Regions from separate parts of the Homo sapiens genome. Here all the other regions are linked to region 4. Evidence: promoter capture Hi-C in 16 types of primary human blood cells and fetal thymus (Javierre and others, 2016). All regions are on one chromosome and are shown on one strand. The core of a region is centred on a gene start or on the middle of the fragment in contact, and the rest is flanking DNA. Distances in the headings are between cores, read along the strand shown.

What was found. Contacts are between HindIII fragments. The CHiCAGO score rates a contact against its expected background, and 5 or more counts as called.
Region 1: a contact is called between a fragment that was not itself captured here and the fragment with the promoter of OXR1 in region 4, in 1 of 17 cell types (fetal thymus). The highest score is 5.1, in fetal thymus.
Region 2: a contact is called between a fragment that was not itself captured here and the fragment with the promoter of OXR1 in region 4, in 1 of 17 cell types (fetal thymus). The highest score is 5.9, in fetal thymus.
Region 3: a fragment that was not itself captured here is called in contact with the fragment with the promoter of OXR1 in region 4 in 1 of 17 cell types (naive CD4 T cells); the score reaches 5.1 in naive CD4 T cells.
Region 5: a fragment that was not itself captured here is called in contact with the fragment with the promoter of OXR1 in region 4 in 1 of 17 cell types (fetal thymus); the score reaches 6.4 in fetal thymus.
Region 6: a contact is called between a fragment that was not itself captured here and the fragment with the promoter of OXR1 in region 4, in 1 of 17 cell types (fetal thymus). The highest score is 5.6, in fetal thymus.
Region 7: a contact is called between a fragment that was not itself captured here and the fragment with the promoter of OXR1 in region 4, in 1 of 17 cell types (megakaryocytes). The highest score is 5.3, in megakaryocytes.

Annotation. Positions count from the first base shown.
Region 1 is chr8:105,799,388-105,802,867 of GRCh38, reverse strand. ZFPM2 (zinc finger protein, FOG family member 2) reads right to left here. Exons shown (of 8, transcript NM_012082.4): 8 at 1-1,821. All of the region lies in intron 2 of ZFPM2-AS1 (ZFPM2 antisense RNA 1), which reads left to right. Among named protein-coding and RNA genes, the nearest start is that of ZFPM2-AS1, 260 kb to the left of the region's middle. RefSeq lists an enhancer at 1-651. The HindIII fragment of the contact is 1,565 bases long and covers 1,397-2,961 here.
Region 2 is chr8:106,603,424-106,606,817 of GRCh38, reverse strand. The region is part of intron 3 of OXR1 (oxidation resistance 1); the gene reads right to left. The region is part of intron 1 of OXR1-AS1 (OXR1 antisense RNA 1); the gene reads left to right. Among named protein-coding and RNA genes, the nearest start is that of OXR1-AS1, 53 kb to the left of the region's middle. The HindIII fragment of the contact is 649 bases long and covers 1,651-2,299 here.
Region 3 is chr8:106,643,764-106,647,295 of GRCh38, reverse strand. All of the region lies in intron 3 of OXR1 (oxidation resistance 1), which reads right to left. All of the region lies in intron 1 of OXR1-AS1 (OXR1 antisense RNA 1), which reads left to right. Among named protein-coding and RNA genes, the nearest start is that of OXR1-AS1, 12 kb to the left of the region's middle. The HindIII fragment of the contact is 2,466 bases long and covers 428-2,893 here.
Region 4 is chr8:106,268,243-106,271,505 of GRCh38, reverse strand. It overlaps OXR1 (oxidation resistance 1), which reads right to left and starts at 1,316. Exons shown (of 17, transcript NM_001198533.2): 1 at 1,139-1,316. RefSeq lists silencers at 962-1,321, 1,342-1,591. The HindIII fragment of the contact is 2,469 bases long and covers 1-1,769 here.
Region 5 is chr8:106,661,285-106,664,531 of GRCh38, reverse strand. The region is part of intron 3 of OXR1 (oxidation resistance 1); the gene reads right to left. Among named protein-coding and RNA genes, the nearest start is that of OXR1-AS1, 5.2 kb to the right of the region's middle. RefSeq lists enhancers at 173-673, 3,145-3,247. The HindIII fragment of the contact is 6,673 bases long and covers 1-3,247 here.
Region 6 is chr8:106,625,730-106,629,262 of GRCh38, reverse strand. All of the region lies in intron 3 of OXR1 (oxidation resistance 1), which reads right to left. The region is part of intron 1 of OXR1-AS1 (OXR1 antisense RNA 1); the gene reads left to right. Among named protein-coding and RNA genes, the nearest start is that of OXR1-AS1, 30 kb to the left of the region's middle. The HindIII fragment of the contact is 1,068 bases long and covers 1,569-2,636 here.
Region 7 is chr8:105,903,743-105,907,109 of GRCh38, reverse strand. All of the region lies in intron 2 of ZFPM2-AS1 (ZFPM2 antisense RNA 1), which reads left to right. Among named protein-coding and RNA genes, the nearest start is that of ZFPM2-AS1, 160 kb to the left of the region's middle. The HindIII fragment of the contact is 270 bases long and covers 1,631-1,900 here.

The DNA.
Region 1 (3,480 bases), core at 930-3,429, 470 kb after region 4:
CATTGGGGGAAGGCTGCTTCAAATTCCCATTTTTCTCACATTTTATTATGCTTCTTTCGTAGCTGACATCAGGGCTGTTTCGTTCGCTTTCTGGATTCGGAAACACTTTGCCGTCCAGTTGACCCAGGTCATTACGCTGATGTGCAGTAACCGGGCAGAAATTCTGCTTGTGGGCCAGATAGTTTTCTACCTTATTGAAACTGATCTTGCACACAGTGCACTCGTGATAGTCCAGCAGCCTTTTGGGAGACGTGGTCGTCCGCTCAGACTGAGATAAACACTTTTTGCTGAGATCTATGGGCACGTCCATCTCTAGGCAGGAAACACTGGAATGAGTAGTATCACATTTGGAAACTGGAACACACTTGTTGATCGTCAGAGAAGTTTCCAAGTGTTTAGAGACAATTCCTGGAAAGATATCACATCTTGGGTGGTAGCACTCTCCTAGCCCTTCTGTGGGTTCTTGAGTGGAGGTACAAGGATTATTGAGGTTGGCTACGTCAAGAAATCTCTGCTGAACCAGTGGAGGCCTTTGTTCCTGCTCAGGTAGGCACATCTCATACATCTTTCTGCGCTTGCGTGTGCGCATGGTTCTCTGCATGGCAGGCACTTTGTTGGAAGCAGACCTCTTCAGTGGAGGGTCGTGGCGTGTAGCACAGTAATACTGTTTGTGGACCATGTATGTTTCGTGCCGGCTGAAGGTAATGTTGCAAGCTTCACAGGTAGTCTTATTTGGGTCACTTTCCCCATCCACTAAGGGGACACTGGGATTTTTCACATCAACAGGTTTTCCATTAATTTTGTCATCATTGTTACTGGAGGTGGAGAGCTTCTTAGTTTGAGTGGAAAAGTCCTTGTCATGGCCCTTCCCATTTGGCCCAATTAAATCTAAGACAGTGGAAGAATTGATGCAAGATGTTTGAAGAAGTGGATTCTCAGGATCAGCAGAATGAGCAGCTGGGTTGAGAAGGTTTATGGAGGTTTGGCCAGTGTTGGGACTCAAAGCTTCAGGCATCTTTTCTGACACACTAGGGAACTCTGGGGACTTAGCCATCTGCTGCCATCGGCTGCTGCAATAATGCTTTTTGTGCACTAGATAATTATCCAAATTATTGAATGTTATGTTACACTCAAAACAAGTAGCCCCCTTGGGCATCAAAGGGCTGTAAATGACGGGAGGGTAGCTACTACTGCCATGCCTCAGTCGCCGATGCACCAGTTCAGACATCTTAGCTAAGATCTCTGAAGCTTGAGGGACCATGGTGATATCTTGGGGGAAAGAAAACTGAGATAGGAAAGGGCCCACAGGGAAAGAAGGCCCAATATTAGGCTGAACTGGAGATGAGGCAAGTCTTGGGCTAGAGGGCTCAGACTTTATTTTTGTGTAAGAAAAGCTTTGTTTATTTGTTGTAGGCTGTATCTCTGGTCTCTGGTTCGTGAGAAAGAGCTGAGTCTTTTTCTCACACTTGTCCAGCTCTGTGTCAGAGCTCGCATCTTTAGTCTGCATGGCCTTTTGGCTCTGGGGAAGTTCGCTTCTGGTCAATAAGTCTGTGGCTGGCTGTAAGCTGTCTTCAGTTGCACTTGGAGAGTGTTCCATGTCACTTTCTCTGGGAAGTTTGCCGCTAGGGACATGGAGCTCCTGGTGCTGCAATAACTCCCTCTGAGTCTGGAAGCCGAAATGGCAGTGATTACATCGGAAGGCAGCTTGAGTGAGATGGGAGAACAGGTGTTGGTGAAAGTTGATCACGGAATCAGCAGTGTAGCTACAGACGGTGCATTTTAGACTAGCACCAGGGGGCAGGAATTCTTCCATTTTCACTCCTAGAGAGACATACAAAATAAGAACAATGAGAAACATGTGTGTTGGTTTTTGAATGACAGGGACCTTTTCTAATGACCTAATGTTTGCAACACAATAGGAATGAAATCTTTCAAAATTTCATTCGTGATATTAACTGTTTTCTTGTGACATCTCTTACTGTGTATGATAATATTAATAGCACTTTATAGTTTTCAAAGTACTTTCATGAATATTATGGCATCAAAGTGGAATAAGTGTCAGTGTCTCCATTTTATAGATGAGGAAACACGCTGAAGGAGGCTAAAGGAATTGATTATGTTAATAAAGCTATTAAGTGATGAAGCCATGCCTAAGCCTTGGATTTTATAATTACTAATCTAATAACCTCACTATAACATTAGCCTCTACATTAGGAATAAGTGAGCATTCATTAGGGTTGCTATTGAAAACAATGCAAATCAAATAACTCTCAGTACACTACATATAGGTTATATTCTAAAGAGGCCAAATAGAAACCATTTTGTAAAGTAATTAATATAATCTTAATTTATATTAATATAAATTTAAAATTTTATGCAGTAGTTTTGCTGAACATAGTTTATCTCTATCCAGGGCTGATATTTAGCTGGTAGACTAATATAGTCTACCAGTACACTAATATAGTCATTTTGCATTGGCATCCATGCTGATTGATCACTGCCTATTTCTAGTCCATGATTAAATATTTTGAATATTACCATTGACTGTGGTGGGTAAGCATCACTAAGATTGACTCTAGCTCCCATTGGTCAGCATATGGTAAAATCAGGCTTGGCTTATCCCCTCTGTACTCTGGACTAGAATAAGACTGCCTTTTATATTCATAAGCTGAAAACATGGCAGAGGTACCTAGTCCTGTAGTCATAAAAGGGGACTACCTATCCTTGTCTCTTTTTCTCCTTAATGAATCTAATACTCATTTTTTTTTCCATTTAGCTTAAAGGACCCCTGTATTCTGTTCTTTTTGTTTTGTACATGACCTTACTCACCATCTGAGACAACCAATATGTTTCTGCTTCCCCTGCTTTATTATCTATATGAAGATAGCTCATTTGTAAGGAGAGGAAAGAGGATGAGCAGAAAGGAAATGACCTACTTTTACAGGTTCAAAGACAAAAGCTTGAACTGTACTAGAGCACTGGAGGTTAGAACAGTAGCTTAAAACTCAACATGTGTTTCCATTTTAAAATTATTTAATCTAGGCAAAGACCACTAAGAAAGTCACCCAGAGGTGTCCTACAAGGTTTGTATTATAGGTGCTGAAAAACTATGATTCTCAGTCCCTAGTTTGTCCCATGTAAGAATGTACCTAAAATTATTTAAAGTTAATAGAATTCTGTACATTTGAATAAATTCATTTTTTAAAAAATATGATAATTAGAATGCTATGAAATGAAACTAAAAATAGCTGGCATACAATTCCAAATTAAATAGAAACAGTTGCCACCTTGCTATTGAGAGGGCCTTAAAAAGCTTATTTGTTTTTCAGCCTATTTTTTTCTTAAGGGATTTTAAAACATAGTACTAAAAGTAGTTTAATGTCATAAAAACCACCTAAGCTGTTATGATGCATCTTTTGGAAGTCAGAAATATTTTACTGATCCATATTTAAAAGTAAACATCCCTGAACTGTAATTTTA
Region 2 (3,394 bases), core at 726-3,225, 330 kb before region 4:
AAAAATATTCTTATATTGATCCCTGGAATCTGTGAATGCTACCTTACTTGGCAAAGAGAAATTAAGGACGCAGATGGAATTAAGGTTGCAGCTGACTGTGAGATGGGAAATTATACTGAATTATCCAGGTGGGCCCATTGTAATCAAAAAGGTCCAAGTGGAAGAGGGAAGCAAGAGCTATCATATGATATCAAGAGTATCATAGTGGCCAGGTGCAGTGGCTCATGCCTATAATCCTAGCACTTTGAGAGGCTGAAGCGGGCGGATCATTTGAGATCAGGAGTTTGGTACCAGCCTGACCAAAATGGTGAAACCCTGTTTCTAGTAAAAATACAAAAAAAAAAAAAAAATTAGCCAGGCATGATGGCACATGCCTGTAATCTCAGCTACTAATGAGGCTGAGGAAGGAAAATCACTTGGACTTGGGAGGTGGTGGTTGCAGTGATCCGAGATTACACCACTGCACTCCAGCCTGGGCAACAGAGTGGGACTCTGTCTCAATAAATAAATAAATAAATAAATAAATAAAGAGTATCATAGTGATATGCTCTAAGGAAGACTTGCTGGGACATTGCTGGCTTTGACGATGGTAGGTGGCCAAGAGCCAGGGAAAGTAGGGGGCCTCTAGAAGCTAGAAAAGGCAAGAAAATGGATTCTCCCACAGGGCCTCTAGAAAGGAGCACAGACCTACTGACACCTCGACTTTAGCCCCAGTGAGATGCATTTTGGACTTCAGAATGCTGGGACTTAATATAATAAATTTGTTTTAAGCCACTAACTTTTGCATGACTTGTCACAACTGCAATAGGAAACATAATACATCTGGTAAACACTTTGCATCCCATAGTGAGGTGGGATTATCATCCACATTTTATTATTATCATCCACATTTTATTGAAAATAAAAATAGAGACTTAGAGAAGTCATATGTTGTTTCAACCTAAGTAGGAAGTGGGAGATATCAGATTTGAGGTGTTTTTTGTGTTTCCTTTATTTTATTTTTTCTTTTTCTTTTTTTGGAGACAGGGTCTCCCTCTGTCACCCAGGCTGAAGTGCAGTGGCACCATCTCGGCTCACTGCAACCTCCACCTCCCGGGTTCATGTGATTCTCCCACCTCAGCCTCCTGAGTAGCTGGGATTACAGGCGCCCACCATGCCCGCCTAATTTTTTTTTTTTTTTTTTTTAGTAGAGACGGGGTTTCACCATATTGGTCAAGCTAGTCTGGAACTCCCGACCTCAGGTGATCCACCTGCCTCAGCCTCCAAAAGTGCTGGAATTACAGGTGTGAGCCACCATGCTAGGCCCAGATTTGAGGATTTTAGGAATGCCTTTGTTCTCACCATTAAATCCTAGCTATTTCTGGTCTGGCTTTTCCCCTACAGAATGTGGTTGGCTCAATTAAAGCAGGTCACCAGGCAACTCCAGGCTGAGTCTTGTTGGAGAATAAAGTAGAATATCTGTCCTGTACAAATAGACCTAAGACAGAAACCAGATTAGCATTGCAGAAAGTCAACCATACCCTATCTGTGTGTTTTAATTGCTAGAGTTTTGATTTGGATAATGTCTTTTTAAAAAATTTTAGCTTTCAAGTATAAAATATTACAGATTTTATCTTTATGAATTATACAGCAAACTCTTCTAAAAAAGCTTGGCTTTCCCAGTGGCATCTTGTCAGCCACATGTTTTCAGCACAAAGGAACGATTTTGCCCCAGTGCAAATTAAAAGTCCCAGGCTCTCACCTCCTTCAACTTGTAAGATTTTAAGAAATCTAAGTTGAAGAGAGCATTATGTAGCATCTGACCTATTAACTGCTTGTAATCTGAGGTGGCTTTTACCCAGGATGAATGACATCCTGAGTGACCTCAAATCTTTTGTGAAAAGAAATGTGTGAATCACAGGCATATACACGTGCCCAGGCCCACACAAACACACTTACAGGCTTTTGCACACAGATAAACAGCTTCAATCATTTCTGAAATGCTTCCTTCTTAGTATAACCTTCAGGCATATTACATAAACTTTTTGCAGACAACTCTAGGAGAACAAACAAGAAAAACTTATGTCACAATTATCGAAAGATAGGCTTCTTCCATGTTATTGCAAACAGCTGTACAACCATTTGTTAAGCATCTGTTTCCTAGAAACGTTTATTCAATAAAACTCTTCCTCTCTCCTTTTTGTCTCAAGTTTAAGGTCACGCTATCAAAATATGTTAGTAAAGAAACTCAGTTTTGTTACTGGATATATTGTCTGCATCTGTCAGAGTTCAAAAGCAGTGCTTTTTAATGCTGCAAGCTTTAATACCTATAGAATTTTACAAAAAGCTAAATATCCTATCTGGTTTGGAGGATATCAATAATACTGTATACGGGTGGCTCACACTTGTAATCCCAGCACTTTGGGAGGCCGAGGCGGGTGGATTACTTGAGGTCAGGAGTTTGAGACCAGCTTGGACAACATGGTGAAATCCTGTCTTTCCCTGTGAAAGCCAAGACCCCTGACTTCAAGCATCGTGGCTTATCCCTTCACCCATAGGAGTCATAATGCTTTTGACATTTTTGCCCCTGACACATTTTTAAAAGGTGTTTGAAAATATATTTAAAGATTAGTTAGGGGTTTCAAAAGTATACTTGGTTTGTGGCCAAGTGCTATGGCACACAGTTAATAGACGGTATACACCTGCTTTTTAAAAAGTTTTCCCATTTAATCCCTGCAAGTGTTCAGGTTTCTTCTGTTTTTTGTTTGTTTGTTTGTTTGTTTTTTGAGATGGAGTCTCACTCTGTTGCCCAGGCTGGAGTGCAGTGGCACTATCTCGGCTCACTGCAACAACCGCCTCCTGGGTTTAAGCGAGTCTCCTGCCTCAGCCTCCCGAGTAGCTGGGACTACAGGCATGCACCACCACGCCCAGCTAATTTTTATATTTTTAGTAGAGAGGGGGTTTCACCATGTTGGCTAGGCTGGTCTTGAACTGCTGACCTCAAGTGATCCACCCGCCTCAGCCTCCCAAATTACTGGGATTATAGGTGTGAGCCACTGTGCCCGGCCCTGTTCTTGATTTTTAAAGCAATTTTACAGACTTGCTTTCTAAGACATCTTAAAGTACTCTTTATTAAAATTTAAAGCTCTATTCAAACCTTTCTTTTTAAGGGAGAATTACACGTTCCATATTAAAAGTTTTGGCAATATAGAAAAGCAACAAAAACAAAATAACAATCACCCATCATAAACCCATCACCCAAAGGGAGCTATTATTAAATAATACACACTCTCATTCACTTAATACACCTCTCATAACTGATTCTTGAAATACGTTGTGGAGGTTTTACTTGACAGTTTTAGCTGAAAAAGATGGTAGTATTATCTACCATATACCATTTAAAAAATACAGAAAA
Region 3 (3,532 bases), core at 411-2,910, 380 kb before region 4:
ATTAATTTTCTAAAAAGTTCCCCTCTAGAAGATACCAACCTTGGATATAATAATTACAAACCCTACTAAAAACCAAGTAATTTTCTTTCAATTCTGAAAATTGTCCAAAAGGTGTTAACTCCTTCACTCATCAGAAAAACACTGCATGGCAGTCAAGCCAAACAAGGACTCAGCAATAGCATCGTTAACAATTATAATTGAAACTTGGGTCACAATAAGTGACATCAACTTACCATAGAATTATTCCAGTTCTATTTTTAATCCTATTAAAGACAGTAATTACAATGGTATAATTACAGCCCCCAAATACTCCATACCTGGAATGTGGCAGCTTCTGGAGCTTTTGGATCAGTTTCACTCAGCTCATTGGACAAGTGCCAATTGGTATTACCAATGGTGCTTAAAGTTCTGAAAACTCAATAAAGCTTTAAAAACCTTGAGGAACAATAGCTCATCAGGACACCCAAAGAATAATGTTACATCATGAAGACAAACATTCTCATTTTCTTTCTTCTGCAGATTTCTTTTCCTGCCTGCACTTTCTTTGAGGTTGCAGTAGAGAGTGTGTGTCTACAGAAGGTACTGTATGCATAGCTATAAGGAGGTCTTACCCTCTGTCTTTTTATCTTTCTGGGCCCTTCTTTACCCTTGTTCTTCCTCTTCTCCTCTCTTAATTCTATAATGGGTCTTCACATATTGCTGTACCTTCTCATGTTACTTGAATAGAATTTTGATACTTAATCTGAAAAGCTGATAAGTGAAAACATTTGTTTTGTGGTATATTAAGTACTTTATTGAAATTATTAATTTCACATATTTTAAAGTTATATAGCTTTTAGCTAATTTTTTGGATAATTTCCCTATCTTTGTTTTTATTAAAGATAATAGGGCCAAGCGCGGTGGCTCATGCCTGTAATTCCAGCACTTTGGGAATCTGAGGTGAGCAGATCACCCTGAGGTCAGGAGTTTGAGACCAGCCTGGCCAACATAGCGAAAACCAATCTCTACTAAAAATTACAAAAATTAGTCAGGCTTGGTGGTGTGCACCTGTAATCCCAGCTACTTGGGAAACTGAGGCAGGAGAATCGTTTGAACTTGGGGGGCGGAGGTTGCAGTGAGCCGAGATCACGCCACTGCACTCTAGCCTGGGCAACAGAGTGAGACTCTGTCTCAAAAAAAGAAAAAAAAAAGATAATAGAGAAAAAAGAAGATGAACAGGCAAAATAATATTGGAAAAACCTAAATCTGTTGCCAGCACATTTCCAGCTTTAACCTGTAACCAGTAGTTAGGTAGTTTTTTGTTGTTGTTGTTCCTTCTGTTGGGGGAAAGTCTATAACTGGGGCTGTGTCAATACAAGATGAAATGAAGTACAATAAAAAGAGAGCCTACCTATAAGTTCATCCATCTCAGAGAAAGTGCTGGGCAGCAATGACAAATTTTTATCAATTGTCCAAATGTTTCAGCCATGATGCATGAACAGCAAACTCCTAAGTGCTGTACATAATGTTTGAAAGGAATAGAACTTATTCCTCTTCCCAAAGTAGATGGGAGTTCCCTAACTCCCCACCTCCCCATACCAAACACAATCTGGGAAAGATGCTAATATCCCCAGGTGAATCAGCCCAAAGGCAGTCAGCATATAGGAAGAGAAATTCAAACCTAGATGGTCAATCTTTAAATGATCCAGCACTGACTAGACAGGTTTAGTTTTCAAGCAGAATCATGCACTGGTCATTTTCTTCTGTTGCAGATCTACTCTAAATTCTCAAGTCTTCCTAGAGAACAGTAGACACAGCAATATAACCAGATTCAAAACTCAAATCTATGCTGCCCTAACAGGCTTGAAGGAAAGTTGGATCATTTCTAATTGCCTCTCAAGAGAGAAGCAGGGCATGCCTAGGCACCTCAGCCCCACCTACTATCCACAGACTCATATGGGTGCCAAGCTGGCTATACAGCCACCACCACCAGTAGAATTTATCAAATGCATTGAACAAGGACTGGTTGGCAGCCAATTTGTACCTACCCTACTGGTTTTCTAGGAGTCCGGAAGGAAGGGTTGGGGATAAGATTCTTAAATATACAGAGACATCAACAACATTGTTAGGCCCTCAGATTGAGCTAGTTCTGCTAACACACTGCATGATATGTAAGCACATGCATTTGTGTTTGCTCATTAGAGCCTATACATTATGTAGTAAAATGAAATCTCCCAGCTTCTACTTTACCCCCTCTTTAATCGATCTCCAACACTGCAGCCAGGGTAATCTTAAATCCGCCAATCTAAGTATTGCCTTTTCTCCGCTTTAAAAACACTCCTTGTTCACAGCAGCAGCTGCCTGTTGATAATGAGAATCAGCTGTGGAACTTTTTAAAAAATTAAAATTCTCCAACTATACGCAGAGATTCTGGTTCCATGGCTGTAGGGTGGGGAACTCAGGAACCTCAATTTTTAAATTATAAGCCACGTTTGCGGCCTGCTACTTTAGTTCTTCCAAATGGTTTTTGCATATTTAGTTCATATGAGTCACACAATGACTTCCGAAAAAGGTCCATGAGACTAGATCTGGCAACCACCGAGCAGTGATGTATGTGTTTCACATACGTGTGCAAAGAACAGGCGCTGTTTAAAACTGCCAGTGTTTTACGCTCCAGGTGCCTCAGCCCCTGCCTCAGCAGCTAAGGATATGATGTGCACAGGACGGTACAGCTACAAGATGGTGGAGCCTCCATCAGTCTGGATCCCTATGTAACTATATGGATCAGAGCCCCTGCTCCCAATACAACCCAAAATTGGATATGTAAGAGGAACAAGAAATACATCAAGAAATATACACCTATTTCAGCAAGTCACTTAGGTTTAGGGGTTCATTTGGCATCACAGAATAAGCTTAGCTTATTTTGACTGATAGATTTTGCAAATGATTAAGTTACATTTTTAATGATATATTAATATGCTAAAGATCACCTGATTTGTTAATGATTTTGCTTTTCAATTGTCTCTTGCCATGTCTATATTCTGAAAAGTATTCTGAGATTGCGAAACTATTCATTTACCTTTTGTGTATGTGAATAAGTATTTTCTTAATACAACCAGAGGAAAACCAACAAACAACAAAAGCAAAATGGGGAGAATGCGGAGTTGCTGAAGCTAAAAAGAATCTGTCGATCATTTATCCTCCCAGTTTAAAAATTTGGTTTCCTATCAGCCTTATTCTCTCAATAAATATCTTTATAATCAAAATGTAAATTTGAACTTGTAAAACACATGTAGGCTCATAAAATGCCATTTTTATGTTTTACATACTGTTCTCCCATAAAAGTACACTAGAAAATGGTTGAAAATAATTACTTTAAGAGCTACAAAGAATACATCTCAATTGTCTTTCACACAATGCCCTTAACATACTAATCGCAACCTTAACCATAAGACATGAGCGGGGCCTTGGTGTTTATCTAGTCAAGCCTTTCATTTTTATGGATTGGGTCATCAAGGCCGAGAGAGGTCAAGTGTACCTCTCAAGGTCACAC
Region 4 (3,263 bases), core at 67-2,566:
CTGACTTCCCGGCCAAAAACACCGCACCTCTGGGGCCAGACCACGAATTCCTGTGGCCTAGAACTGACACCACTCCCCCTACCCCCGCAATACACACATTCAGACCCTACACTGCACCCTGAGCGTGCCGGGAACCACTGAACGGAAGCCCGAGCAGCTCCCCCCGTAAACGACTACCTTCCCCACTGCCTAATGTCTATTTAAATCTCCTAAAGCTCGCCTACAGCGAGCCGAGGTGCGTCCAAGCCGGGTAGTAGACGGAGGAGGAGCCAGGGGTGAAAGTGAACCTCAGATAACAGTACTAAATCACTATTCAAGGGGCGGCACGGGGAAGCCTCCAACCCTCTCCTGAACCTTTCAGGCCCTACCAGCAGCCCAGTTCCTCCGCCCGATACTGCACAGCTCCCCCCCTCTTCACCCAAATCCCTCAGCGATTTTCCAGTCGGCCCTCCAGGCCACTTTCTACATCCATCCTTTCCCCAGCCAGTTCCCAACATGTGGCCTCGGGTACTCTAGCGGGAGACAGATTCCAGGCTGACTCCATCATGATGTGCCCCCTAGCCTTTTACTGATTCCCCAAATTATCCGAATCCACTCGCCCCTCCGGAGCCCACTGTCCCTTCCACCGGCGTCCTTTGCTCTCGTCCAAATCCGCTTTCCACGCGCCCCACTTTCCACCCATCCTCCTGCCGTTCTGTTCAAGACACGCTTGCCCTCCACTCTGCGCCCCCAACACTGCTCTCACGCTGCTCCCACTCTATCCCCCGGCGACACCCCCACTTTCCTTCTGCGGCTGTCCCTGGCCGGGCTCCCGCGCCCCAAACCCAGCCTCCCCGCCCGGTCTCCTCCCTCGCCGCCCGGTCTCCTCCCTCGCCGCGCGGTCTTTCCTTCTTCCCAAGTCCGCCCTCTGGGCCCCCGCTGGAGCTAGTTCTGCCCTCCTGCTCTGCCCGTCGTCCCCGCTCGAGCATCCCAATGGCCACCCGCTTTCAAATTGGCTAAGTGGCTCGGAGAGGCGCCAGGCACAGGGGGCAGAGGCCAGCCGGCTCTCCCGGGCGCCAGCCGCGCCTCTCGCTATCCCTCCTGGACTCCCCCGGGCGCCAAGCCCTCGCCCTAACGCCCAGCAGCCTCACAAACTTACTTGCGGGTCGCCAGGAGGGGGCTGCGGTGAGCGGCGGCGGGCCCCGCGGCGGCGAGTGCGCCCCTCTCGGCGGGGCTGGGCGGCGCGGCGCCGGCGCTGAGCTCCTGTGGCCGCGAGGTGAATGGGCTCAGCCTGACGCAGCCCAGCTCTAGCCCCGCTGCTGCCGGCGCCGCTGAGCGCTTGCAGACATGCTCAGTTTCCGGACCTGCCCGCGTGGAAGCTACCAAGAGCCGGCAGCGGCGGGGGAGACTGAGAGGAGCCGTGGGGCGCCGCGAGCCGGAGGCTACCACGCCGGGGGCGGGGGGAGGCACGCACCGCTAAAAATAGCTCCTGCGGAAGCCACGCTGGCTTAGCGCGCACCCCTCCCCGCGCGCGGCCCCTCTGGCTGGGGTTCGGGTTTCTGCTCTGGCTACCGCGGTGGGGACCCCAGCTCGCCGAGTCCTGCCAGGCGTCTGCCTGCACTAGGATCCCCATCCCGGTGGAGACGGCGCCTCCAGTTCAGGCGCCCACTCGAATAGCCTGGACTAAGCCAGAGCTGCCCCGATTTCGGGGTCCCGCCTGTCGGGCAGCTCTAATACTAGGCTCTCCCTAGAGAAGCAGAGGAAAGTTTTGTTAAAGCGATAAAAAAGCTTCTGCAAGGAAAGCTGCAAGGAAATTTGTTCAGATTTACGGAGGAAAAAAATGTTCTTCAGATGCTTTGGTTGCTGGGAAAAACAAGGAGGAAAGGAAGGCGAAGTCTGACAGCCTAGAAAGGGACCCAAGGCAGCTTGGAGCGGGCTGAAGGGGGTTCTGCAAAGAGCTTCTAAAATTCAGAATTCTTTGCAAGGCGTTTGTGACTCCTCATTCCGCAGTGTTTTGCATAATTCGTTGACACCCCACCCTGACCTTGGAGATTTTCTTGTTCCTGTCACCTGAACTGTAATTTACTTTCTCCGCATGCTGCCTTCACTCCTTCCCCCTCCAACCCGGTTTTAAATTGCAAAACGAAAAGGGCGCAAACTCTGGATGGGTAGATTCCCAGACCTGAACTGGAACCTGGCTGTTCTGTAACCCTGAGGAAAGGAGCTGGTCCTGTTGCCGAGTTCGGGATGTATCCCAGATCTCCTGTGCATCCAGCAAACACTTCAAGCGTAGGAGCCTTTCAGCCACCTCACCTGCAAATTAGCTATTTCCCGCTATTAGTGTTCACTCTATTCTACCTTAATTTCTGATCATTTATTATTATTTTTTAATTCTGTTCTTTAAAGTAAGAGGTACAGATATTTCCTGGGTCAAATTTCCGTCTTGTTTCACTCACCTCTCACAGCCACCCAATGAGAGAATCATTATTATTCCCATTTGACAGACAGGGATGTTGAAATTTAGCGACAGGAGCTCATCGCTTGTCTGGAATAATAGAGTGTTGAACCTAGGGTCGGCCAGACTAGAAACTTTCATGGTTTCCGCATAACCTATTTCCCCGAGTCAATAGCTTTACCTGAGATAAGGGATCAAGAAAATTAGATACTATTCTGAGTGGCGTGGCGTGTCAACAGTAAGCCGATTGATAAGCCGATTGCGGGTTTTGTTCTCCATTATTTTTACCTAATTTCTTTACGAGCATTCGCAGCTTAAATTTTCTGTTATGTTGAAACTGATAGCGTTTAATTTTTATTCTATCAGAAAGATTTTACTGAGAATCTTCTACAAGCAATGTATAGACTAGGTATGTATTTTATAATTATCTCAGTTCAGACTCTGTGATAAAGCTACTTTGTTTTCCCAGTATTATAAATTAGTTAGACTTTGCTAACCCTACTAAGTAATGTACATGTGATTTTTTCATAGAACTGTAGTGGAATCTGTCTATTTGGGTCAAGATGTCCTCCCTCCTAAGATATTTGCGCCCTTCCATCCCCACTTGCAATTTAGTGCCATGTGCACCCCAAAATAAGTAATCAATTAAGGTTTGATCTTTTACTTTTTTACTGAAGCTGCAAATATTATCTGCAGGACCAGGGCCACTTTATAATGACAACATCATGTTTCTAATTTTCCATAGGTGATTCATTGGGAGATCAAAATGTGAATTTCCTTAGACTATCAACACAAATCATTCCTTTCTATCAGTGGTGAAGGAAGGTGA
Region 5 (3,247 bases), core at 619-3,118, 390 kb before region 4:
GATTATTCCTAGACTTAAAACAAAACTATTAATATAAGCATTTAATAAATTTCATCATTTCTATATTTACTTCTAACCTTCCCATGGATAAAAGACTTACCCACTAAGAAAAGTGTGGTTGCCAGACCAGCAGCATCAGCATTACTTAAGAACTTGTTAGAAATGCAAATTCTCAGCCACACAGAATCACAAATTCTAGGAGAGGTATTCAACAATATTTTTCTAACAAGCCCTTCAGGAGATGATTCTGTTGCATGCTGAAGTTTGAGAATCATCAGCTTATTTTAGAGGCAGTTTTGTTCTACAACATAGATAATACAGAACTTCCTATCAGCTATCCTGTGAGACAAGCAGCAATTCTAAAACAGGCAAATCAACCTCATGCCTGAGAACCACTGAACTAAATGATACACTATTAAGAAAGGCTAACTAGTTGGGAGTTACCACTAGAGCCCACTGAGGTTGCCGATCAAGTAGAGAGTATTCTCTTCCTCCCATCCGGCTTTAGGAAAAGAGACTAAAACTGGGGCCAGCTAGGGTTATCTTCTACCAACACTGTGAGTTTTTTGTTTTGTGGTGGTGGTGGTTGTTTTAAAAAGTTACTGTAACAACTGGTACACTCCAGGTCTCTTAAAGCAGTGGTCCCCAACCTTTACGGCACCAGAGACAGGCTTCATGGAAGACTATGGATTATGGACATGTGGGCAAGGGGTGGGGGATGGGGAGAGAGATGGCTTCTCAATGAAACTGTTCCACCTCAGATCATCAGGGATTAGACCTTGCATGTGCAGTTCACAATAAAGTTCACACTCCTATGAGAATCTAATGTCCCCACTGATCTAACAGGAGGCAGAGCTCAGGCAGTAATGCTGGCTCGCTTGCTGCTTACCTCCCGCTGTGCATCCTGGTTCCTAACAGGCCATGGACCAGGGCTGGGGACCCCTGCCTTAGAGGCACTTGGTCCTCCTGGGTTCAAGATAAACCATCATCTAACTCTTAACACATCATCTGAGGTGGCAATTTCCAACCTAATATATACCTAATTTTTCTCACACCCTCATTGGATTTTGCATTTCCAGCTCTGTCATTTTACTATCTTTCTAACTCTAAAGAACCTTCAATGACAATCCATTCTATCCTTTACAATCTTAACTAATTTAACTTTAATACCTTACATGATAGAATTTTAATTCTTCTCACATTTTTCCCCTATCTCAAGGACTGTAACTCTTGCAAATACTAAGAAAACACCCAAATAAATTCTGAATTTCTCACTTCTTTCTTTGGCTCAGATTTTTCAAAAGGAAAATAGGATAATAATAGTACTATGTCATCAGGTTTTTATTAGGATTAAATAAAAAACTTTTGCTCAGAGCCTGCCCCATTACAGCTATCATTCTTGCTATAGGCTGAGTACCACTTATCTGAAATGCTTGGGAACAGGAGTGTTTTGGATTTTTTTGAATCTTCCTAAAGGATAGGATGGATTTGGAATATGTGCATTACTGATTGAGCATCCCAAATCCAAACATCCAAAATGCTCCAAAGAGCATTTCCTTTGAGCATCATGTAGGCCCTCAAAAAGTTTCAGATTTTGGACTTTCTGATTTGGGATGCTCAACCTGTATTACTACTTCTGTTATTACTACAAGTATCATCATCATCATCATCATCATCATCATCATCATCATCCCATTTACTGAAATAGACATTACCCCCAATCCAAGCAAAACATGATATTTTACACCCCCCAATATTAGGTTAGAAACCCTTCTTATATACTCCCATAATATATTTTACATTCCATGCCCAATAACCAACACAGTTATAAATTCTTTGTCCAATGTCTATTTTCCCAACTAGACAGGATCATTAATGAACCTCAGTACCCTCACCAGTAAAATGAAAATGCTACTATTAATTACCTCATAGGGTTGTTGCTGAGGGTTAACTTGTGCGTAAGACACAGCAAGCACTATATGTTTTGTCTATTATAATTATTATTCCATGTCTTGGTTTACATTTTCCATGATTATCAAAAGTGAACCAGTAACAAGAATATCAATCTCAGGCTTCTAAACGCTTCTCCTTCAGTTACATACATTCAGTACATAGGATTTGCTTAATGTAAACCTAAAATGAAACTTCAGCAACAGGGATAATCATTTAAAAAAATATTATTATTAAATAGTTTTTCCTTGACATGTCAAATAATTCAAGTCATAAAAATGTAATACATTCCCACTTAACTTCATTTTTCATCAACTCTATTGATATACACACACATACCAGTAACATATATGCTATGAGGCAGAGCAGTTTTAGGTGCCTAGTACAACAATTTGCAACTAAGGTCTATGGTTGGTATTACCAGATGTTAATGTCCCAGATTCAAAGTTGAAAGAACTGTTGGCTACTGAAGTCAGCACTTCTGCATAGGAGTAGCCATTTTAGCAGAACTGTTCCATCACTGCTGCTACTACTGCTATCCACCATTGTCATCCTCCCACTAAGGGGCCAAAAAGGACTAAAATGAAAAAGTGGACCCCTGCTTCTATTCCTTCCCACATCCCAACATCAGAGGAGTTAATGCATCAAGAAGGGGTGGAGGGGAGTTTGTGAGAGCTAGACCACACCTCTTCTCCGCTACCAACCTAACTTGGAATGGGAACTGAGGTAGAAAGGTAAATGGAGATATAAATTGAATATGAGACTGAAATTTTTAAATAAATGGACCAAGTCTTAAATAACTGAAAGATAGTTTTAATTGCTAAAAATAAATGAAAAGAAAATGTAAAAGGGCTGAGTTGTGCTCAAAGAATCCTGTCACCAAGTGGGAAAATGAGGTTGATATAATAGGACGCTTATGATAAAAACGATTTCATGTTTATACGACAGTAAGTTGAGAGTCTACACTAGTAAAATTTATCTATATTTATTACAATATAATCTAGTGAAGTGAGTACTTTTAAAGATTATACATTATGAGTTATAGTTATGCCCCCAAACAAGAGCTATATTTAAAGTTCAAAACAATTTTTTAAAATCAAAGCATAATGTACCCGTTAATCAGGAACAAGCATTGTATTTTAAGATGTTTCCTTTGTAATTGTTATTAACTAGATCAATGGTGTGATAATGTCCTTAATATGTCTAAGTCTCAATTATGGTTTTCCTGAGAGGGCTATAATGATGGAGCCAGCAAGCACTAAAAGCTGGTAAGAGCAAAAGCAGCCACCTTGGAGAG
Region 6 (3,533 bases), core at 853-3,352, 360 kb before region 4:
AGGACCATGAGGAAAAAAAAAAACAGACTTGAATAGCAGACTTAACACAAGGTATAACTAATCTTTAAAAAAATTTAAATGTTATTTTACTATCTAAGCACACCTTTTCTCTCCTTCAACTTTGTCTCTTCCTCATCTGGCAAGACAATCTCTCAAGTTTGGAGGGTGGGGGAGAGGAATGAAGTAAAAGAGGGTGATTTTGTCTTTTCTTCATTCTCTCTTACTCTGTTACGCTCTGAAGTCTGTCTTTGCTCTTTCATAATCTAGCTGAGTGTTAGTTGAAGTGTTAGTGCAGTTAAACATTAAATGGAAGCAGAAATGCAGCAGTTGTGAGAAAAGAGAGAGCCCACATACTTTAAAATTATCCTTGGAGTCTGTTTTATTCCTTCAGTTGTTCAACAGATATTGAATGCTGAACATCAAGATGCTAATCCCTGAGGGTACGAAGACAATGGAGACACAGTGCTGCATACGTGAAGTGCCAACAGATCAGAGGCATTAGATATACAGGTCAACCATTACACTTGAAGTATGATGCGTGTGAAGATGGAAGAGGATAGCAGAGAGGGGATGGGACATCTAGAAAGAGTCCAAGAAGTGAGGTATCAGCTAACCTTGGAGGGCAAGGAAAGCAAACCAAAATATTTTTTAGATACTGTAAGTTTTATAGTAATGGTTTTTAAAAAATGAATATTTAATCAAATGGAATTGTACACTAGGAAATGTGCCAAGCAACAGTAAAATCTATAAAAGCATCAATTTTGGAGTTGGAGAGATAAAATTCAACTCCATTTCTATCTATAGGTGTGACCTTGGGAAAGTTGCCTGACCTCTCAAAATCTGTTTCTTCATTTATAAAATGGAGTTTATAAAAGCATTTACATCTCTTGGGGTTGTATGAAGATTAAATGAGAGAATATGTATAAATTCCCTGCCCAGTCTTTGGCACCTGGTAAGATGATAAAGGGTCAATAAATGCTAGCTATTATGAAATATTTCTATATATTTTATCATCGAACCCTTGCAACAATCCAATGGACAGGCATTCCTAATGTCAGCTCTTTGGGAAAAGGACACAGAAAACAGGAGGTTCTAGGAATATAGGTTAGAAACCCTGAAAGACCCACATGTGCCATAATAAGGAGTTTGGACCACATGAAGAAGGCAATAGGAAATCTCCAAAGATTTTTAAAGGAGAGAACCAATGAATTTTACGTTTTAGAAATACTGTTAAGATGGCAGTGTGGATAATGGATTGGAAAGGCAGGGAGAAACCTGAAAGGTAGGAGTCCAGTTAGGAATTCTATGTAGTAAATCTCTCTGTGTAATAGTAAGCATGGGAAATCTGCTAAGTGCAATCATACAGACCTGCAGAAGGGATAGCTGGTGGATCCCCTGTGCCCTCAATCTCCACTTATTCCTATATCAATCCTGCTATGGTAAAGGCTTTAGGACTCACTGCCAAAATGCTTAATGCTTTCCACTATGAATCCCACCAGTAATGGTGGTCTCTTTATTGCTAAGTGGCATGAGGTTTTAATCATCTCCGAAAAAAGAGTAGGTAAGCTTCCTGCTGGAAATGAAAGAACTAAATGTCAGTATAATTGCTTCTTGGCTGCGGGGAAGAAGTAGAAAGATTCCCTAAAAACATTTGGGTAGTTCGGTAGCTTAATTTTTTTTGTCATCTTCATATGTTGATGATGTCATCATCATTAAGCCACTACATTGATTCAAGGGTAAATCAGACATAATAGAATTGATGTAAAACACAAATATAGAATATCTCACGTTACCACTTTTTAACCATCAGATGGCTATCATTTCATCTTTTTTTCTTTCAAAAAGTTGATTTTCCTTATCTCAACAGCATTTAGTATTTCCACTGTAAAACACCAGTCCTTTTCCACTATTTTTGTGGGAGAGTCTCCATATTAAAATGCATACATTTAAAAAGTAATGAATGCAAGGGAAGTTTAAGACATGTCGAAGGCTACTCTTCTCTCAAAACACCAGAAACTAAATAATTTGGAAGGAATGTTCTCTTATGTAACAACATCTGAATATATACCATGAGGAATCTGTGAGAAACCAAGTTTTCTTTTGAAATATCACTATTCTATCCTGAATTCTTCCCTTTACGGATGTGCTTCCAATCCAATTTTGCTTAATAGAATGTACTTTTTTTTGCCTTGGTTTTAGTTGTTTGCATAACATGTGCATGTACTTTGAGATACAGGTTGTTGTAGACACGAGAGGTTAACTACGGAGAAAAGCATCGAAACATAATAGAGGAAATGTATCCAAGCATTTCATATTTTTCAGGACTCGAATATTTTAAATAATATAAGAAAAAATATATCCTAGTGCTTTACAAAAGTTATTGAGCACATTAAAATCATGATGCATTTAAAATATGATAATTATAATATATATTTAAAAATTAATTTGAAATATTTATCACAACGCTAGTGAATAATAACCACAAAATTTTTTCCTCAAGTTTAAGATCTGGTAATAGTGATTTGTAAAAAATTATTACAGGGATCTACAATGTTAAATCAGGAAAGCAGCTTTGAGACTTGGCAGAAAAGTGAAATAATTTTTTTAAAGATATTATTAAACACATACCTCAAGCTTAATAAATGTGTAAGTGTTAAAAAAAAAAAAAACCTAAGAAAATGAGCTACTTTTAAGGTAAAAAAAAATTTACAACATGGATTTAATAATTCAGACAGAGAAGGTGTTAATAAACCAGAAAACCAAAGCAAAAATAATTACATTAATGTAAAAATATGAAAAGGACTGAATGAAAAGGGAAAAGACACCAAACTTCAATCAAGGCCATGCCATACAGAGAATGACATGTGTAGAAATACAACTAAAATTATAAAAACAATAAGCAAGAAACAGGAAAGACTTTTTTTTTTTAGAAAATGAATTTTAAAGATAACCTTCATCTTATCATCTGCATAGGGTGAAACGGCTTTTTAGTTAATAGTTGAGTCAGTAAATAATATACTTCTATATAATATCTTTTTAAAAATTTTTTTTACAAGGAAAAACAGGATTAGCTATCTTTTGCCTCTAAAAAGTAGGCTTGATAGCTTCAACACTGGAATATTTTTAATGTATCTAGATTGTTTTTTCAACTTAAGAAAATTGTCTTTTTTCTTGTAAGAACTTATGCTATAAGACACACACACACACACACACACACAAAACGCAGAACAGAGCACAATAGTACTTCTTGATAGAAAATATTTTTTAATTCTAAAAATTATACATTAGTATTTGAAAAGATATAAAATTAAAAGCAATTTTAAGCATATAGAGAAAAAAATATGTATTAAATATAACTGAAATTCCTAAAAAGACATATATAATCTAATATACGTTTACAATAAAGTAAATATATGAAAAATAGAAGAAAAGTAACTATAGCTCACTTCTTTGAATTTTTAAGTGCTATCACATGTGAGGTCATTTCAACAAGATTGGGAAACATTATTGATTATACAATGCAGACACACCTT
Region 7 (3,367 bases), core at 516-3,015, 360 kb after region 4:
ATGACGTTTGACTTTTCCACACATATAATTACTTCAGCATCTACAGATAACACAGATTAAATGCAATTTATTTGATTTATCCATGTTTTGTTGAATAGGGAAAAATTTTCTTTTACCTTTAATCAATGTGAAAAGTAATGAAATGCAATTGTTTTTCATTGCCTGCAAAACAAAAGAAACAATTTCATGGATAAAAATAAGTAGCTCTCATGCACTGAGATTTTATTAGACTAGGCCATTTTATTCTTTTGTGAAAAGGTTACTACCTATGTTTAAATTTCACCATTAGATAAATTTCATGAATTTCATGTAGTTCTGTAAAGTAGCTGTTCCAGAGAGTGCATTTTCCTCCCCTGGACTTTCTAATGTATTTTTTGAAAGGCCTGCCTCACAGAAATTAAACTCAATTTATACATTCAAAAAATCTGGTGAATATATAAATATGCTTTGAACATGTATTCTTAGATCATTTTTCTCTACTTCATTGTTTAAATAGGCAGCACCACCTGGTGGCTAAATAAAACAACTGAAATTTTTTACATCCTGAATATGGAAAAATGTAGATTCAGCAGAGGAAAAATATTTAATTATTTTTTACATTAAATTTGGGTTGCTCATCATAAGTTTCTTCTTTAAATAACGTCTAGTTTTTAAAATGCATACATCTAAACCATGAAGTTTTATCCATTGCTAATTATACTTATTTTCTATACTAGCTGTTAATATAATTGAAAAAATCACTTGTATAATTTTAATAATGTGATATTTAAAGTAAAGTTTAAACAACTTTTGAGAAAATCATCCTCAGGAGGCACTTTAATTCACTCATTAAAATTATCTTCTTGCAGTTTTCTTTGAAAGTAGTCTCATTTCTAACAAACCACAGTCACAGGAACTTACTATAAAACTTTACTCATAAAACACCAACAGAATTAATAAGAACTATTCAGAAAAAGACATGTAATTGTTACACTGTAATTATAGTTTTAGACCCAATATTGAGCTTCAGAAGAGGCATTTAATTCAAAATGTAATGCTACTGCCCTCTTGTGGTTTAAAATGCATATTTCCCTCTGGAAATAAAGATACAGTATCCAAATAAATAATAATTTTGATATTTAATGAGAAAACGGAGTATGAACTACTTTCACATTTGTCCACAGACATACAGTAAATAATCCATTAACTACCATAGATGAAGATTAGAATGTCTAGTAATTTTAGTATCATGATTAATAGAAAGTTAGTGATTAACTTATTTTACCCTCGTTTGGTGAGTGCAATTAACCACAAAAATCCCTTCTCACCTAACTTTTAGCATCTTTCACCAGTTCCATAATATAGATTTTGCAAATTCTATAGGAAACTAACACCCTCCAATTAATACTGGTATAATTAATTTACTTTCCTTATGTTAGGTGAAGAATAAACGGCTTCAAACCACTTAAAAACAAACAAAAAAAAATCCTTCCTCATTTTGCTTCTGTTTTCACCTGGGATGAGTTCAGAAGCCTTTTCCAAGGTCCAGAGCATGCATTTACCTTGCTGAAACACTTTTTGGCCCCTTGCAATTGTGGCACTGAATGGAAAACAAGCTTTAGACACACATTCCAAATGCAGCAGCCAAGCTTTTCCTTGTCACGCTGGCTCTGCTGCTAGAAAAGAATGATGCCTTTCAGATTTCTCCATATGAACAGAACTAATTCTCCAAGAGCGTGCTCTGGCTCTGCGTTTACATCTCTCACCTTGGATTGGGAGTGTTATCATGGATTAAAGGACAACAAGGAGGAAACAAAGAGGGATGATTCTGCCTTTGCTAAAACTCCAGGCACTGTAGGGCAAGAGTTTATTTTCCAACTGTCTGAAATTTCCTTTGGCTACTCCCTTCTCTGCGAAAGCTTGTGATGCACTTCCATTTAGAAAATAGGATTTTGTTATTATTGAGAAGAGGGAAAAACTAAAGCGATCACTTATATTCTGCTTTCATTTATTTAGCTACAGAGAAAACAAGCAGAGTCAACAGCAAAAGGGGGTGGTTGGTGCAAGGTACCACTCTGGCACCTGGCCTGGCATTCCTATGCCTCCCATGATCTTGGTATGCTGCTGTCCCCACCGGGGCCTTTTAACACAGGCCTTCACCCAAGTGGTTTTCTTTGATGAGGTAGCATTTCCTTTGTTTTTTATTTTTTCCTGGGTACATGTCTAGGATTTATCTAGCATGCCATTAACAGTCTTGTCTTCAGGAAGAAGCAAGAAATGACAGCAAGGGACTAAGGGGTCATGCAACTCAACATGTCCAAGGTTGTTTTTCAAAGATCTCCATGCCAATTCCTTTAGGTTTAACTTGAAAGCAGTATCTGCAAGAGGAGAGAGAAGGGCTCACATTACCTGGCTCAGAGTCTTATCCGTACTTGGCATGTCTTGGCCATCCGCTGAAGAAGCTGTTCTTGGTCCTCTATACTTTGCTACATGAAGACACTCATTTTGCTGCACAGTTGTCTTCTGTTCTGGCCTCCTCTTGACAATGAGTGATACAACATGGTAAAAATGTAGCAGCAAAAACTGAGCAGCTCACACCTTGAATACATTTCGATTGCACAGCTACTTCCTGACCTGTATGTAATTCTGCCACATGCCTGAGCTCTAGTGAGTCCTACACTTCCCAGAATTCACTCGGGTCCCTTCTCAGAAGGGGCTCTTACAGACCTCAGGTGAGATGAAGCAAGACCAGGTACTTTTCTGCCTCTCTTCCCCTGGGAGTCTTCATTTACAGTGCCAAGATTGCTCTTTCCTTACAAAGCTAGGTTGTTGCTGATACTGATTTTGAAAGTCAATAATACATTGTTTAGGGATAAGAAATAGTCGGTGCATAGGGTAGCAGGAGTTACCTAAGAAGGGAGAGACAAGATTTCAGTGAAAGGGCTCACAGGGTATTTCTAAGATCCTGTTAAAAATTTGTTTTGTAACTTCTCTGGGGGAACACAGAGTTTTACTTTATAATTACTTTTGTTTTTCTTTTTTTCTTTAAGACAGTGTCTTGCCCTGTCACCCAGGCTGGAGTACAGGGCTCACTGCAACCTTGAACTCCTGGGCTCAAGTGATCCTCCTTCTTCAGCCACCCGAGTAGCTAGGCTCCTCCTTTCTCAGCCTCCCAAGTACCTAGGACTATGATATGGTTTGGCTCTAGGTCCCCACCCAAATCTCATCTCAAATTGTAATTGTCGTGTGTTGAAGAAGAGGCCTGGTGAGATATGATTCCATTATGGGGGAAAATTTCGTCCTTGCTGTTCTCATGATAGAGTGATATCTCACAAGATCTGATCATTTAAATGTGTGTGGCACCTCCTGCTTCTCTCTGTCTGTCCTT